2 separate regions of the Homo sapiens genome follow, and region 1 is linked to region 2. The links are contacts of gene promoters, found by promoter capture Hi-C in blood cells and fetal thymus (Javierre and others, 2016). All regions are on one chromosome and are shown on one strand. The core of a region is centred on a gene start or on the middle of the fragment in contact, and the rest is flanking DNA. Distances in the headings are between cores, read along the strand shown.

Evidence for each region. The method cuts DNA at HindIII sites, captures the fragments that hold promoters and counts their contacts. A CHiCAGO score of 5 or more calls a contact.
Region 1: a contact is called between the fragment with the promoter of FBXO38 here and the fragment with the promoter of MAT2B in region 2, in 1 of 17 cell types (total CD4 T cells). The highest score is 9.1, in total CD4 T cells.

What each region holds. Positions count from the first base shown.
Region 1 is chr5:148,382,344-148,389,094 of GRCh38, reverse strand. FBXO38 (F-box protein 38) reads right to left here and starts at 5,137. Exons shown (of 22, transcript NM_205836.3): 1 at 5,056-5,137. It overlaps FBXO38-DT (FBXO38 divergent transcript), which reads left to right and starts at 5,245. Exons shown (of 5, transcript NR_105057.1): 1 at 5,245-5,596. RefSeq lists an enhancer at 5,161-5,360. The HindIII fragment of the contact is 17,680 bases long and covers 1-6,751 here.
Region 2 is chr5:163,500,246-163,507,673 of GRCh38, reverse strand. It overlaps MAT2B (methionine adenosyltransferase 2 non-catalytic beta subunit), which reads right to left and starts at 2,055. Exons shown (of 7, transcript NM_013283.5): 1 at 1,925-2,055. The coding sequence starts at 1,987. RefSeq lists a silencer at 1,739-1,878 and enhancers at 2,049-2,168, 2,209-2,298, 1,516-2,322, 4,553-4,602, 3,938-4,746. The HindIII fragment of the contact is 7,455 bases long and covers 892-7,428 here.

The sequences.
Region 1 (6,751 bases), core at 3,888-6,387, about 15 Mb after region 2:
TTCTTCCTATCTCTGTCCCTCTCCTTAGGCCTCCCTATTTCCTGAGACACAATGATATTTAAATTAGACCAATTAAGAACTCTACAACGGCCTCTAAGTGTTCAAGTGAAAGGAAGAGTTGAGCATCTCTCACTTTAAATCAAAACCAAGAAATGACTAACCTTAGTGAGGAAGTCATGTTGAAAGCCAAGACAGACCAGAAGCTAGGCTTCTTGTGCCAAACATTAGCTAAGTTGTGAACACAAATAAAAAGTTCTTGAGAAAATTGTTACTCCAGTGAATAAACAAATGATAAGAAAGCAAGACAGCCTATTGCTGATATACACAAAGTCTGAGTTTTATGGACAGAAGTTCAAACCAGCCACATTCCCTAAGCCAAAGACTAATCCAGAGCAAGGCCCTAAGTCTCTGCAATTCTATGAAGGCCGAGAGAGGTGAGGAAGTTTTAGAAGAAAAGTTGAAAGCTAGCAGAGGGTGGTTCATGAGTTTATGGAAAGACGTTGTCTCCATAGCGGAAAAGCACAAGGTGAAGCAGCAAATGTTGATGGAGAAGCTGCAACAAGTTATCCAAAAGATCTAACTTAGATAACGGCTGAAAGTAGCTACACTACACAACAGATTTTCAGTACGTACAGCCTTCCATTGGAATAATATTCCATATCAGATTTTCACTGCTAGGGAGAAGTAAATGCCTAGCTTCAAAGGGCAGGCTGATTATCTTGTTAGAGAATGCAGCTGGTGACATGAAGTTGCAGCCAATGCTCACTAACCATTCTGAAAATCCTAGGGCCCTTCAGAATGATGCTAAATCTACTCTGCCTGTGCTCTATAAAAGGAACAACAAAGCCTGAAAGACAGCACATCTGTTTACAGTATAGTATACTAAATAAGACTTCTACTAAGATCTACTGCTCAGAAAAGTTTCCTTTTAAAATATTACTGTTCATTGACAATGGACCTAGTCATTCAAGAGGTCCATTAGATACACAAGGAGATTAATATTGTTTCCATGCCTGCTAACACAATATCCATTCTGCAGCTAATAGATCAACTAGATCAAGAACTTTCAACTTTCAAGTCATATTATTTAAGAAACAAATTTCCTGGCTGGACCCGGTGGCTCACACCTGTAATCCCAGCACTTTGGGAGGCCGAGGCAGGCAGATCACAAGGTCAGGAGCTCGAGACCAGTCTGGCCAACATAGTGAAACCCCATCTCTACTGAAAATACAAAAATTAGCTGGGTGTGGTGGCATGTGCCTGTAATCCCAGCCACCTGGGAGGCTGAGGCAGGAGAATTGCTTGAACCAGGGTGTCAGAGGTTGCAGTGAGCCAAGATCGTACGACTGCACTCGAGCCTGGTAACAGAGCTAGACTCCATCTCAAAAAAAAAAAAAAAAAAAAGAAATAAATTCCCTAAGGCTATAGCTGCCATAGACTGTGATTCCTCTGATGGATATGGGCAAACTAAATTCAAAACCTTCTGGAAAGGATACACATTCTAGAAGCTGTTAAGAACGTCTGTGATTCATGGGAGGAGGTCAAAATATCAACATTAACAAGAGTTTGGAATCCAGTCCTCATGGATGACTCTGAGGGATTCAAGACTTCTGTGGTTATAGGAGGAGCAGGATTGAAATAATAAACAACAAAAGACATCAGTGGAGGAAGTCGCTGCAGATGTGGAGGAAATAGCAAGAGAACTACAATCGGATGTAGAGCCTGAAGATGTGACTGAATTGCTGCAATCTCATGATAAAACTTGAACAGATGAGAAGTTGCTTCTTATAGATGAACAAAGAAAGTGGTTTGTTGAGATGAAATCTACTTCTGGTGAAGATGCTGTGAACATTATTGAAATGACAACAAAGGATTTAGAATACTACATAAACTCAGTTGATACGGCAGCACCAGGGTTTGAGAGAACTGAATGTAATTTTGAAAGAAGTTCTACTGTGAGTAAAATGCTATCATACATCGCATGTTACAACAAAATATTTCCTAGAAGGAAGAGCCAATCAATGAGGCAAACTTCACTGTTGTCCTAAGAAACTGCCAAGCCACCCCAATGTTCTGCAACCACCACCCTGATCAGTCAGCAGCCACCAAGACAGAGACAAGATCTTCCATTAACAAAAATATTATGACTCGCTGAAGGCTCAGATTAATTGTTAGCATTTTTTTTAAATTAAGTACTTTAAAATTATGGCGTATACATTACTTTAGATATAATGCTGTTGCACACTTGATAGATTATACTACATTGTAAAATATAACTTCTATATACACAGGGAAACCAAAAACTTTGTGACTTGCTTTATTGCAGTAGTCTGGAACCAAACCTGCAGTATCTCTGAGCTATGCCTGAATAAATAAGGAGGAGAGTATTATATATAAAGACTATACTTTGCGGTACCAGGTGTTACCTATAGGCTTAGCAACTTCTAGACCCTAAGACTCTGAACCTTAAGGAAATGTCAGAAATGACAGAATTACAGAATCCCAGAATGTTAAAAGTTGAAGAGGACCAGAGACACTACCTAATCACACAGTTCTCAATTTTTTGTGGGTCACAAACCCATCTGAGAATACGATGAAAGTGGCACATCCGTTTTCCAGACTCATGCAAGCAGAAATACATACACGATTTCAGGGGGTTCATATTCACAGACATCGAAGCTCATCTAGTGATCCCAAATTTTTAAGATGAACAAACAGAACCAGAGAGGATAAGGTGACAAATCACTTGCCCAAGATTAAATAGTGTCAAGGTTCAGGCTGGGATACAGACTTCCCAGGTTACAGTAAACATTCTATCATCAAGTCAGTCCTCTGTCACTGTGGTTGTCTTCCTGCATTCCAGAGCAATGCCCTAGTGCTTGGAGAAAGGCTTCTAGATGCTCTGATAGAACTGCATCTGACCACACCCTACCTTCACCAATTAGGATTTATGGTCCATTTAATTTAGGCTCCCATGCAGTGGTCTATGGCCACCTTTGGTATATTACAGTCACTCTGTGGCTGCCTGCTTAGCTGACCTTAGCCACAGGAAGCATTACTTTTGTCTTGGTGTTGCAAGCACATTCTTAAACCAGAGTTGTTTCCAAAAAGTGTTCTCCTATCTCGTCAATTCAAATCTCCTTCCCATCCCAAACTCAAATTACTTTTCTTTACCCTCGTGAAAAATACCCCCTCTCACTTGAAACTTCCCTATATTCTCAATGATCCTATCTGGTCAAGGGCTTCCCTGCCCTTCAAGTTTCTCATGCCTTTCTTTAGTTTCTATTGGTTTCAGCTTGCTCATATCAAAGTAATCTTGCATATCACTTAATTTGACCTCACAGACCTTAATTGACATCATAGACTATCTTGTGTATCTACTGACCAGGACAGCCTCTCTTGTCTAAAGAAATACCACACCACATAAACCAAACTGCTCAGATAAAAACCACACACAAACAAAACAAAACAAAAACCCCCCAACAGGATGATGGTGCTGAAAAAGGCCTAGGAATCATCCAGCTCAACCCTTCGTTTTACAGATAAGGAAAGTGAGGCCTAGAGATGTTAGATGGCTTGTCCAAAGTCACAGAGGCAGGATGTACCAGTGTGAAGCAGGGATACAGGTCTTCAACTCCTTTTTAATTTTATTTCACTATACCACCTTATTTCATTTTAGTATACCACCAATTTTACTTCACTATATCACCCTATCTTACTGGAATCTAGTTGTCCCTTTTTCTCCTCTGCTATGCATTAGTATCTGTTTGACTAAATATAAAGTGTGTACCTCTGGGCACACAGCCATTTAAACAAAGAGGCACACAAAACTCTACATTCTTTACCCAAGGAGGACATCAGAATTACAGCATCACATATTTTAAAGAGGGGAAAGAAGGCTTACAGATAATCTAAAATGTTAATTCTCAAAATGAAAGTTAAAAATTACAAGCGGATTTTTTTCAGTCTATGCCTATGTAATACATACCCTCCAGACTGGACCTCCTCCTTCCCTGGGAAAATCATGGCTTTATAGAACTATTATTTTATCCTTCACTTGTGCTGGGGGAATGGGAAAGGGGATTAAAAACCAGTGACCTAATCCAACGTCTTCCTTTAGCAGATAAAAAAATCTCAAGTTCAGAGAGAGGAAGGGATTTGGCCAAAGTAAACCATCAAGTTAATAGCAACTTTGGAACAAAAATCAAGGTCTCCTGTTTTTCACTTTGTAGTGATTTACACTGCTGGTTTAGGTGTATAAAACAAAGTTTTCTGGACAGAGCTTCTCATTGCACAGGAACCTTCCTAAGTGACCAGTTGCCCTTGGCCAGCTTGGTGTCTGCAAAGAAACACGGTAGACATCTCTTAGTCAAATTCTGGGTGTGCAGAGTGCAGGGAGAATATGCTTTTCAGGTCTGTAAAGACTCCATGAAAAGGGAGTTAAGAATCTGATTTCCACAGCTAGGGCACGGACATCAAAGGCATCCAACACAGATAAGCAAACTGCAGCACAGAAAAGCTAATGGACCTAGACAAGGTCACACGGTGTGTAGGTGGAAGGGGTGAAACTAGAATTCAGGGCTCCTGATACTCAGGCGTGGCAGCCAAAGATGTGTTCACTGCTTCCTGCTCAGGGACATCTCCTCACTACGCTGAACACAGACCTCCTTCACTTTACTGGCCGAAACACCGACTTAACATTAAAATCATGAAATTCGTGACGCCCGGGGTGGGAGACAGTCACAGAAGCTGTCCAGTCCAACACCCTCACCCATTTCATTGAGGAAACTGGGGCCCAGAGAGAGTTCTTTATGCTGGATTTTGGGGCCAGGTTCAGACAAGCAGGCAACCCCCGCAAGCACGGCCTAGAAGGCCAGGAACTACAAATTCAACCCCTGATCTCTCAAGGAGCTCTAGGCCCCAAGGGGGCCAGAGGCCGAGCTTAAGCGGTCGGAAGTTCCAGAATCCCCACCCAGCTACCTCAGCCCTGCCGCACGCACTCCGGGCTTTGCCACCCCGCTCCCGGTCCCCAGGCCCACTCAGCCGCCGCCTCACCTACGCCGACCCTCCGCCTGTTATTGTGGTTGAGAGGGAGGGACGCTACAGACACTTCCCCGGCCCCTACCGCTGAGGCACTTCCGCTTCCGCCGCCGCTCGCATATTTCCGGAGTGTTGTCATCCGGGGCTGGAGCCTCAAACCCGTGTCCATATTGTGTGTGTGAAGAAGCATCGAAGCGCGGCAGCCATGTTCAGCGTGGCATTTCGGAAGGCTTGTCAGGGGTGGAGAAGCGGGGCGGGTTGCTGTTCTTTCACCTGACACTAAAGCGCCATGCCGGAAGCACTGAGTCTGATACGTCGGAACCAGTCTCCACCGTGTGGTTTGGTCTTGATTTCCACTGGTACTCTGGGGTCTTGGATAAGTCTCTGGACCTCGCCTTTGTCATTTGCGAAGTCGATAGGTTCCAATAGAGATTTTCCCAGAATCATTCAACTAAAAATAGAGAACTTTTTTTTTTTGAGAGGAAGGACGGGGGCGCAGTTAAAGATGTTAATGTTAAGTCATCCCTTCTGTGATTTCGGGACATTATCTTTGCACGTAAGTAATAGTATTTTACAGTCCAAAGGAATTTCACATGAGTGTCATTAAAAACTCTACACGACTCTGACATGTAGGCAAGGATCAACTTAATCACCTTTTCTGTTGTTTAATGGATAAGGAATTGTCTTCAGAGAGTGTAATTGATTTTCACAATGTCTCGCAGATGGACTGAAATTCAGATTTTTACCTTTTACATCCTGTGTTCTTGCCCTAATATACATGTAATTAATATGGGCTAAAATCCCTAGATTTAAATAGATACAAATACTTCTTAGGAAAGTTAGTGTGCATTAAAGCCATGTGAGACACAATTTGACAAGACGTAGCATTGACTAGGCTATTCTGCTGGAGAAGAAAAAGCTGAAGAAGGCTTGGGAATCCCATTTCTTCTTATTCTTTTCTTGATTGATAGCAGACCTACTGGTTTTTCCCCTCTTTCCCCAATATGGTTCGGCACCTTAGGTTTCAGCTTGTCTTAGGCAGTCACAGTTTTAGCTATCCCATTCCGTATGTCAAACCATATATCTGTGTTTTTATTTGGAGCTCTGGTAGGACAAACAAAACAAAACCTCATCATATTCATGTACTATTCATTGTAATCTCAGCTTTCATGTTACATTCTTCCTGTAATTGAAGACAAAAATGAATTTTTATGCTATTTGCTTCTGTCGGTTTCTTCATATTCAAACTTTAATAAAGGAAACAGACTTTAGCTTTTTCTGTTTCCCAGGTTATTCTGAAGAATAAATAGGAATTACGAAAGTTTCTAGTGCAGGGCATGGCATATTTAGAAGGCATTCAGTAAGATTTATTTCAGCACAATTGGCCTGAATTTTTAATTCAATGGAATATGATTTTCATTTTATTAGCATTCCTCCTTTTGTAAAAAGCACTGTAGTGGGACCTGAAATGAATACTCATGAGTAAGAAAGGTTTCCTACCTCAAGTTTAGAAAATTTCCTACCACAAATCATTGTAATAAATGTTAAAGATATTTTCTCACTGCTATGAGTGTTATATATAATAAGATATCAAAACTAGTTTTAACATTTTCAGGTAGAGCATGTTATATGTATCCCTTCATCTCTAGGATTTATTTGTACCTTGATGTTACAGGTTTTCATTAAAAAGGTCCTGAGTTAGTATTTCTCC
Region 2 (7,428 bases), core at 806-3,305:
ATTTTAGTTGTGCACAAGGAAGAAATGTCTAAACACTTTAAGAAAGTCAGAATGAAAGAATAAAATGCTATCTAGTTCACTCAAGGCACAATAAAGAGTTGATAATACTTTGCCTGAAGTCTACTTTTTCTCAATTTTTATTATATGGGGGAAAGTAGATCTAATATCAGTTTAAGTTACTCTAAACGTATCTGCCTCTTATTGTCTAAACTCTGAAGTACGGAATTCAATCACTCCAAGGGACCAGATTTATGGACACCAAAAAAACATTTCTTGAAAAATTAAGTACATATAAATAAATATTCTTATTATCGTATCTAATCGAATGATACCAAATTGTATAGGTAATGGGAGATACATGGCTCCTTCCAAATGGTCCAACACAGTACTCTGGGACAGTGATTTCTACTTTAGCACACCTGCATTAATGTCTACTAAAAATGTTCTAGAAAAGTAAAGAATGGAATACTATTAGTATGTGGTTTTCCCAAATTTCAGTGGTAAATACCTTGTCGTTTTTGGAAACTTTAAAACTTGGCACAGTTCCATGTTTAATTTTTTAATTCCCCAGAAACAGACCCTTAAGGTAAACATTACTGGGCTTTACTTTTTAAGATTCTCTGACTACTTAGGTGGGATTGGTCTAACTTCTACTGCGACGCTACTGTGCTCCACAGACAGTATTACTAACAACAACCACTCCAGGATGCTTCTCTAACGTTAACTATGAGACAGTTCTCGTTCTCATGAGTCAGTAAGCTTTAATTCTACAGGTTTTGAGAGCAGTAAGTCTGTGCCAAGCTCTTCGTTGTTTCATTTTTAATGAAGGAAAACACGAAAAGCTATTTTCATTTTTATACTGAACTTCTTTTTGTGAAAGTAGATTAAGCTTTATATGCACACGTACACATACAAATGCATACATATAAATGTAAACGTATGTAACATGCACTCAGCACGGTCTGGAGGACCTAGGAACATAGAGGTTTAATAGACCATTTATCCTAACTTTACCCTCAAAGAACCAAAGTGATTTGAAAACCCTAAGTAAATTTGGAAGCATGAAAACTTTGCAATAACAGAAACAGCCATCTCCTATATTCTCTACTCTCTCCAAAAGACATGGTCTGGGCATTAGTAGTGTTCTTATCCCCAGGGTTGGATATGTTCTGTGGACAGATTAATGCTGGAGGCCCTTAAGTGGAATGGAGCAGGATGGGACGGGGGCGAGGGGGGCACCAGAGATGGATCTTCCAATCATCACCATAATCTTCCTTCAGGGAAACTCCGTAGTGGTTCAAAGCCCAAGACAGTCACACAAACCTGTATCTGAATTCCAGGCTCCAACCTTACGGAATGAACCTGGGCCAATGTCTCACCCTCTATGCCCGTTTTCTCGTCTACAAAATGAGGCAATAACAAGTATCTCACAGTGGAGGATTAAAGTAATGCCCGTCAAGTGCATAACATAGTGCTGAGAACTTAAGAGTTCAATAAGTTGTCATCTCCAGCACTGTTATTTGTGAGAAGTCACCTTTTCCTGTTCTTTCTCAAACCTACGAACTTGTAAGATCGAGAAATACGAACCAAAGATGAATAAACGGGGAAAACCAAAATCAAAACAAACAATTCTGAAAAACCTCTTCGTCCTCAGGAGCAGAGACAGAACTCGAAAGTAAAACCTCCACCTACTTGCTTCCTGCCGCAGTGGCTGGAAGAAAAAAACACTGACCCGTGTGCGCTGAGATAAACAAACTCGGTGGCGCCCCCCTCGGATCCGGGGCTGGGAGGGTGGCGGTGAGACCACTCCCGGCCGGAGGCTCTGACCCGGGCGGAATACGCCTGCAAAGCCGCCCGAGCCCCGGTGGCTCGTCCCCCTCGGCGCCCCCGCTCCCACCGGAGACGCCCAGGCCGACTCCCTCACCTCCACCAGCCGACAGCTCCCGGGAACAAAGTGTATAGAGAGCTCTTTCTCCCGCCCCACCATGCCCGCCGTCTTCACGCCGCAGCCTCAGCGGCCGCCACCTCCTCCAACCCAGGATCGACGCGGGCCTCAGCTCAGACGCCCTCGGCCCGCCTCCCCTAGGCCCAGAACGACCCCGCTCGCCGCTTCCGGCTTCCGCTGCCATAGCCGCGCCCGTTGATTGGCCACGCTCCGCCGACGCCCCAGAAAGAGGGCGGGTACGCGCGGTCTGCCCCCAGCCCACGCGCCGATGCTTAAAGCGACACACAAAAGAAAGGCCCTGACCTTAGGCAGTGAATTCAGGTTTTGTTTCGGAGATTTTATTTGAGTGCTTTTTATTCTACTTTTTTTCCTTTTTTTCTTGACTCGGGAAAAGATTGAAGTGGATCGCCTTGAGTTTCAAGTTTGCAGACTGCGCAGTGCATGAGGATCGACTGAGCAATATAAAAAGTGGAATAAAAAGCATTTTAAAGTCATGGGGGCGGGGGCGGAGGTGGGTAGAGCATAATGGACACATCTCTAGAGCTCTAGGTGGGGGTTTTGAAAGATTTAGAAAAAGACAAGGAATAAAAATAAAAGGGTTGGCGTCTGAGCCATTTGTCTTCCTGGGATGCTTAAAAAAAGAAAAAACCTGTGTGTGAGATATCAAAAATGTAAAACTATTTTTAACTAATTAAAAATAAAAAGTTGTAGGGGGAAGGAAGATGAACTACTTAGGTACCTCTTCAAAACGCAGATCCTTGGACTTTACCCATAATTACAGAACAAGAAACGAGCCCGGGGTCCGACTTCTTAATGGGTTTAACCAGAATCAAGCCCACTCTTTAAGAAACACCGCCTCGGGGATTGCAGGATTGGGCCACACGAGCCCAGCCTTGGTGAGCACCGAGAATTTAAGCAGCAGCGTGTAAGGCTGGGCGTTCTACCACCTTTTAAAAGTTAAGCAGCCCTAAGTGCTGATGCCGACTTATTTCCCTTCCAGTTAAAAACCGCAAAAAATCCTCAGCCAGGCTGGACGCCTGTGAAATTGATGCAGAAAGTAAACCCTGGCACAGGCCGTGTAGGATTTGCCAACTTTGCACCGAACAGTCCAAGGGTTCTTGTGTGCCCAGGATAGCAAGCTCTAAACGTCGTCCACAAACGTGACCACTGTCTGGATTTTCCTAGGGCCTTTCCCCGACTCCTAAACCTTTTTGGTTTATTTTCAAACTAAAGACTAAGCAGCCTTTTAAAGAAGTTTTCCACGTCAGAACACCATGACTTTCCTTCCTCCTCAACCCCCAACAAAAACTCATTTCCTTATTCGTGTAAACATAAAGTTTCTCTAGAACAGTAATCGAAGACAGCCTGAGGTTTCTTATGTTCCGATTTTTTTTTTTTTTAAACACAGGCTATTACTGTTCATTAGTTTGGCTTTATTTAGGGAATCCTTGAGGACTGCCCCAGCGCTAAACAAGCATAATCAGGGGACAACAAAGAAGAGGGCGGGAAGAGGGCCGGGGGAGCAGCCAAGATCATCTTACTACTTTTTCTCTTAACTGGGAATTCGGTTTAAAGTTTCTAGTCGCAACACGTGATGTAATCTTACCTTTCTATGGGAGAAAAGAAAATTAATTCTTCATTCTTCAACGTGAAGCAGGTTTAAGGGCAAGCATATGCAATTAGCATTCTGATTCTCAGAGCAGCCTAGTCTTGAGGAACAGAAAGAATTTAACTTGGCTGCTTTTGAAAATCTGACTTGATACTTTCCCCGTAAAAGTTGGGTACAGTTCTAGGGGCATATGTTTGGATATGGTTTTTAATCATTTTCTTTAATGATGGTAGGGTCTATGCGAATCAAACGCCATTCTTAACATAGACAATATACAACTTCGTGTGGTGGCTAAGTCTATACATTTAAAGAGAGCAGCCTGAAACTAAAAGTTATGTTAGCAGATTCAATTCATACAAAGACAAAGAACATCTGGAAAGGAACACACTACAGATAAAATCCTTATTTATGTAGAAACTTTATATACATAATTGCATTTAAAATGGTAAATGAAAGTGCAATTCTGTATTGTCAGCTAGTGAGACTTAGCTGAGCCCTTCATAACCTGGTTCTCCGGGTCAGTAACTAAAGTTGGCTTATTCTTCCATGTCCCGAGGTTATGTTTTAAGGAAATGAATGACACCCGTTTCTATTTTCTTTACACAACAATTCTGGTTTTAGCAGGCGTTCACTGGAATGCTTTTAAAGCATCTCTTACTCTAGAATGCTTCATTTCTTGAATTGCTAGTTCTTACCTGCTCCATGTCCTCTGGCATTTCAGGCATGACTCCAGAATTATTTCAGGAGAGCAGATACGGGATGGGTCTTAGCCTCTGCCTTCTCTTGCTGGGTCTTTGTTCGCTTCTGCCTGCAGAGAGCGCAGGCACGCCAAAACGTGAGGAGCAGCTTCACTTGACCTTTTAAATTAGCATTTTGATTCCAATCCCGGAATCTCGTGCAGTTCTCCACATGGCAGTAAGCTGGTAGCTGATTCCCCGTAGTAGTCTCGAAAATACCCAATGAGAAGTTTCATGTTTAATTGCCAGTCAAGCCTGGGTCTATTTGCAAAACTATTTGGTAGAACTAACTACTTAACAAAAACAAAAACAAAAACCCAACAACTTCCTGTCAAGATTCCTTGTAGTTTTCTTTTGCAAAAGAAGAGTGAGCCACACTTTTGGAAAGCACACAGATCATGCAGTTGATTCCTGTTCTAAAAGGCACAGTTTTCTATCATTTTATTTAGTTACACCTTATTGCAACAGATTATGTTTAGTAAAATTCTCCAGTGCTTTCCCTTCCCAGTGCTTTTAATTATTTCAAAGGAGAGTAAAAGGCAGTGGTGGTAACAGCACGCAAGAAGTAAAATGCAACGGGTCATTTCCATTAATACTATGCTGCCCTCTGAGAAAATGGTAGATGGAGTGAGCGGCCTTAAGTTTCACAAAGCATTAAGGACTTCTAGATAAGTGATTTCCAAACCTGCCTGCACCACAGAACCTAAGAAACGAAATCATTCTCTGGGAGCGAAGCCCAGTAATCTGTTTTCGAAGACTTTCAAGGGTCATGAACGTGCTCAGTGAGCTTTGCACCGCTATTCTGAATTATGGCTCTGTACCAATTTAAGAACATCAAAAATTGCCATTCAAATTGAACTAAAAAAATCATCTGACTTTTAATGTTACATTCATTTAGAGCACACAGCGCATGGTAAACTCTAAGAGGCATTCAGAGAAATCTATTAATATAAATTATGAGGAATTGTTGTGTGTGTGTTTGCATTTGTGAACAAATGTGAACCTGAAAAAGCCAGTCCTTCAAGATGGATCCCAAGTGGCTAACTGGGCATAATTTATTTATTTTTATTATTTCAAGACAGGGTCTCCCTCTGTCACCCACGTTGGAGAGCAGTGGTGCCATCACAGCTCACTGCAGCCTCGAACTCCTGGGCCCCACGTAATTCTACAGCCTCAGCCTCCCAAGCAGCTCCACAGATAAGGAGTGAATATTCGCCTTGGCCATTCCCGGATTCCTTAGCTCCAAGCACACATTCTTCTTAGACCACAGGGTATTCTCAGGGTATGCTTAAAGTTATTGCTGTCAGGTGCATCTGCCATACAACGCTATTTATTTATTATTATTATTATTATTTTTTTTTTTTTTTCTTTTTTGAGACGGAGTCTCGCTCTGTTGCCCAGGCCGGACTGCGGACTGCAGTGGCGCAATCTCGGCTCACTGCAAGCTCCGCTTCCCGGGTTCACGCCATTCTCCTGCCTCAGCTTCCCGAGTAGCTGGGACTACAGGCGCCCGCCGCCGCGCCCGGCTAATTTTTTGTATTTTTAGTAGAGACGGGGTTTCACCTTGTTAGCCAGGATGGTCTCGATCTCCTGACCTCATGATCCACCCGCCTCGGCCTCCCAAAGTGCTGGGATTACAGGCGTGAGCCACCGCGCCCGGCCCTTATTTATTATTTTTAAGACGGACTCTCGCTCTGCTGCCCAGGCTGGAATGTAGTGACATGATCTCGGCTCACTGCAACCTCCGCCTCCCGGGTTCAAGCAATTCTCCTTCCTCAGCCTCCTGAGTAGCTAGGATTACAGGTGTATGCCACCACACCCGGCTAATTTTTGTATTTTTAGTATAGACGGTGTTTCACCATGTTGGTCAGGCTGGTCTCGAACTCCTGACCTCAAGTGATCCGCCTGCCTCAGCCTACCAAGGTGCTGGGATTACAGGCATGAGCCACAGCGCCCAGTTCAGACAACACTTTAAAAAGGAAGATATAAGAATAGCCGATAAGTACATAAAAAGATGCTCAACATTAGAGAAGCAAATTAAAACCACATCAAGATACCATTACATACCTAACAGAATGGCCAAAGTTAAAGACTGAAAGCATCAAATGATAATATAAGGGAGGCAAATTTTACTTCCACCTTTTCAGGGTTTTCTGGCTAGACTTAAGAATTAAATTAAGGTAGATCAACATACAAGACTATTTTATACAAACTTAATGTGGCATGGGCCCTTCCAAAGGAAGTGAAGACCCAAAGATGGAGTTAGAGTTGCAATTAAATACCAAATTAGACAGAATACTAAATTGTGAAAAAGTAAATTTTTGAGGCTAGAAGATCAGTTATTTTAATAAGGTTGGTACAGAATTATCTTGGCATTAACTTCCTGTCTTTGGTGATAGGAATGTTACTTTACTTCTGGTACGGGAGGGCATCATTCATGTGAGAATTTCATCTGCTTTTAAGAAACAGAAGAAAGGTCACGGTGATCTTCTTGTGCCTGCTGTTTTTTAAGCATATTTAACTTAAAATAGTCAAAATGCCAGTGTGGCATATTTTGGAGTAGTATATTCTCAACTCCTTCACTAACAAGCATTTTGAATGACTAGAATGCTCTTTTATTGCTAGAGGGAGTATAAAATGATACAACCACTTTAGAAAACTGGCAGTTTTTATAAGGTTACATGTATGCCTCAGAGAAATAAGAACAATAAGAAAAAAAAAGGAAGAAAATAAAATAAAATAAAGTTAAACATAACACCTATTCTGGCCAGGCGCAGTGGCTCATGCCTGTAATCCCAGCACTTTGGGAGGCCGGGACAGGTGGATCATGAGGTCAGGAGTGAGAGACCAGCCTGACCAACATGAAGAAACCCCGTCTCTACTGAAAAAAATACAAAAATTAGTGGGTGTGGTGGCGTGTGCCTGTAATCCCAGCTACTCAGGAGGCTGAGGCAGGAGAATCGCTTGAACCCGGGAGGCGTAGGTTGCAGTGAGCCGAGATTGTGCCACTGCACTCACGCCTGGGTGACAGAGAGAGACTCCATCTCAAAAACAAACAAACAAACAAAGAAACAAACAAAAAACATACACCTATTCCATGACCCAGTAATTCTACTTCTAGGTGCTTACCCAAGAGA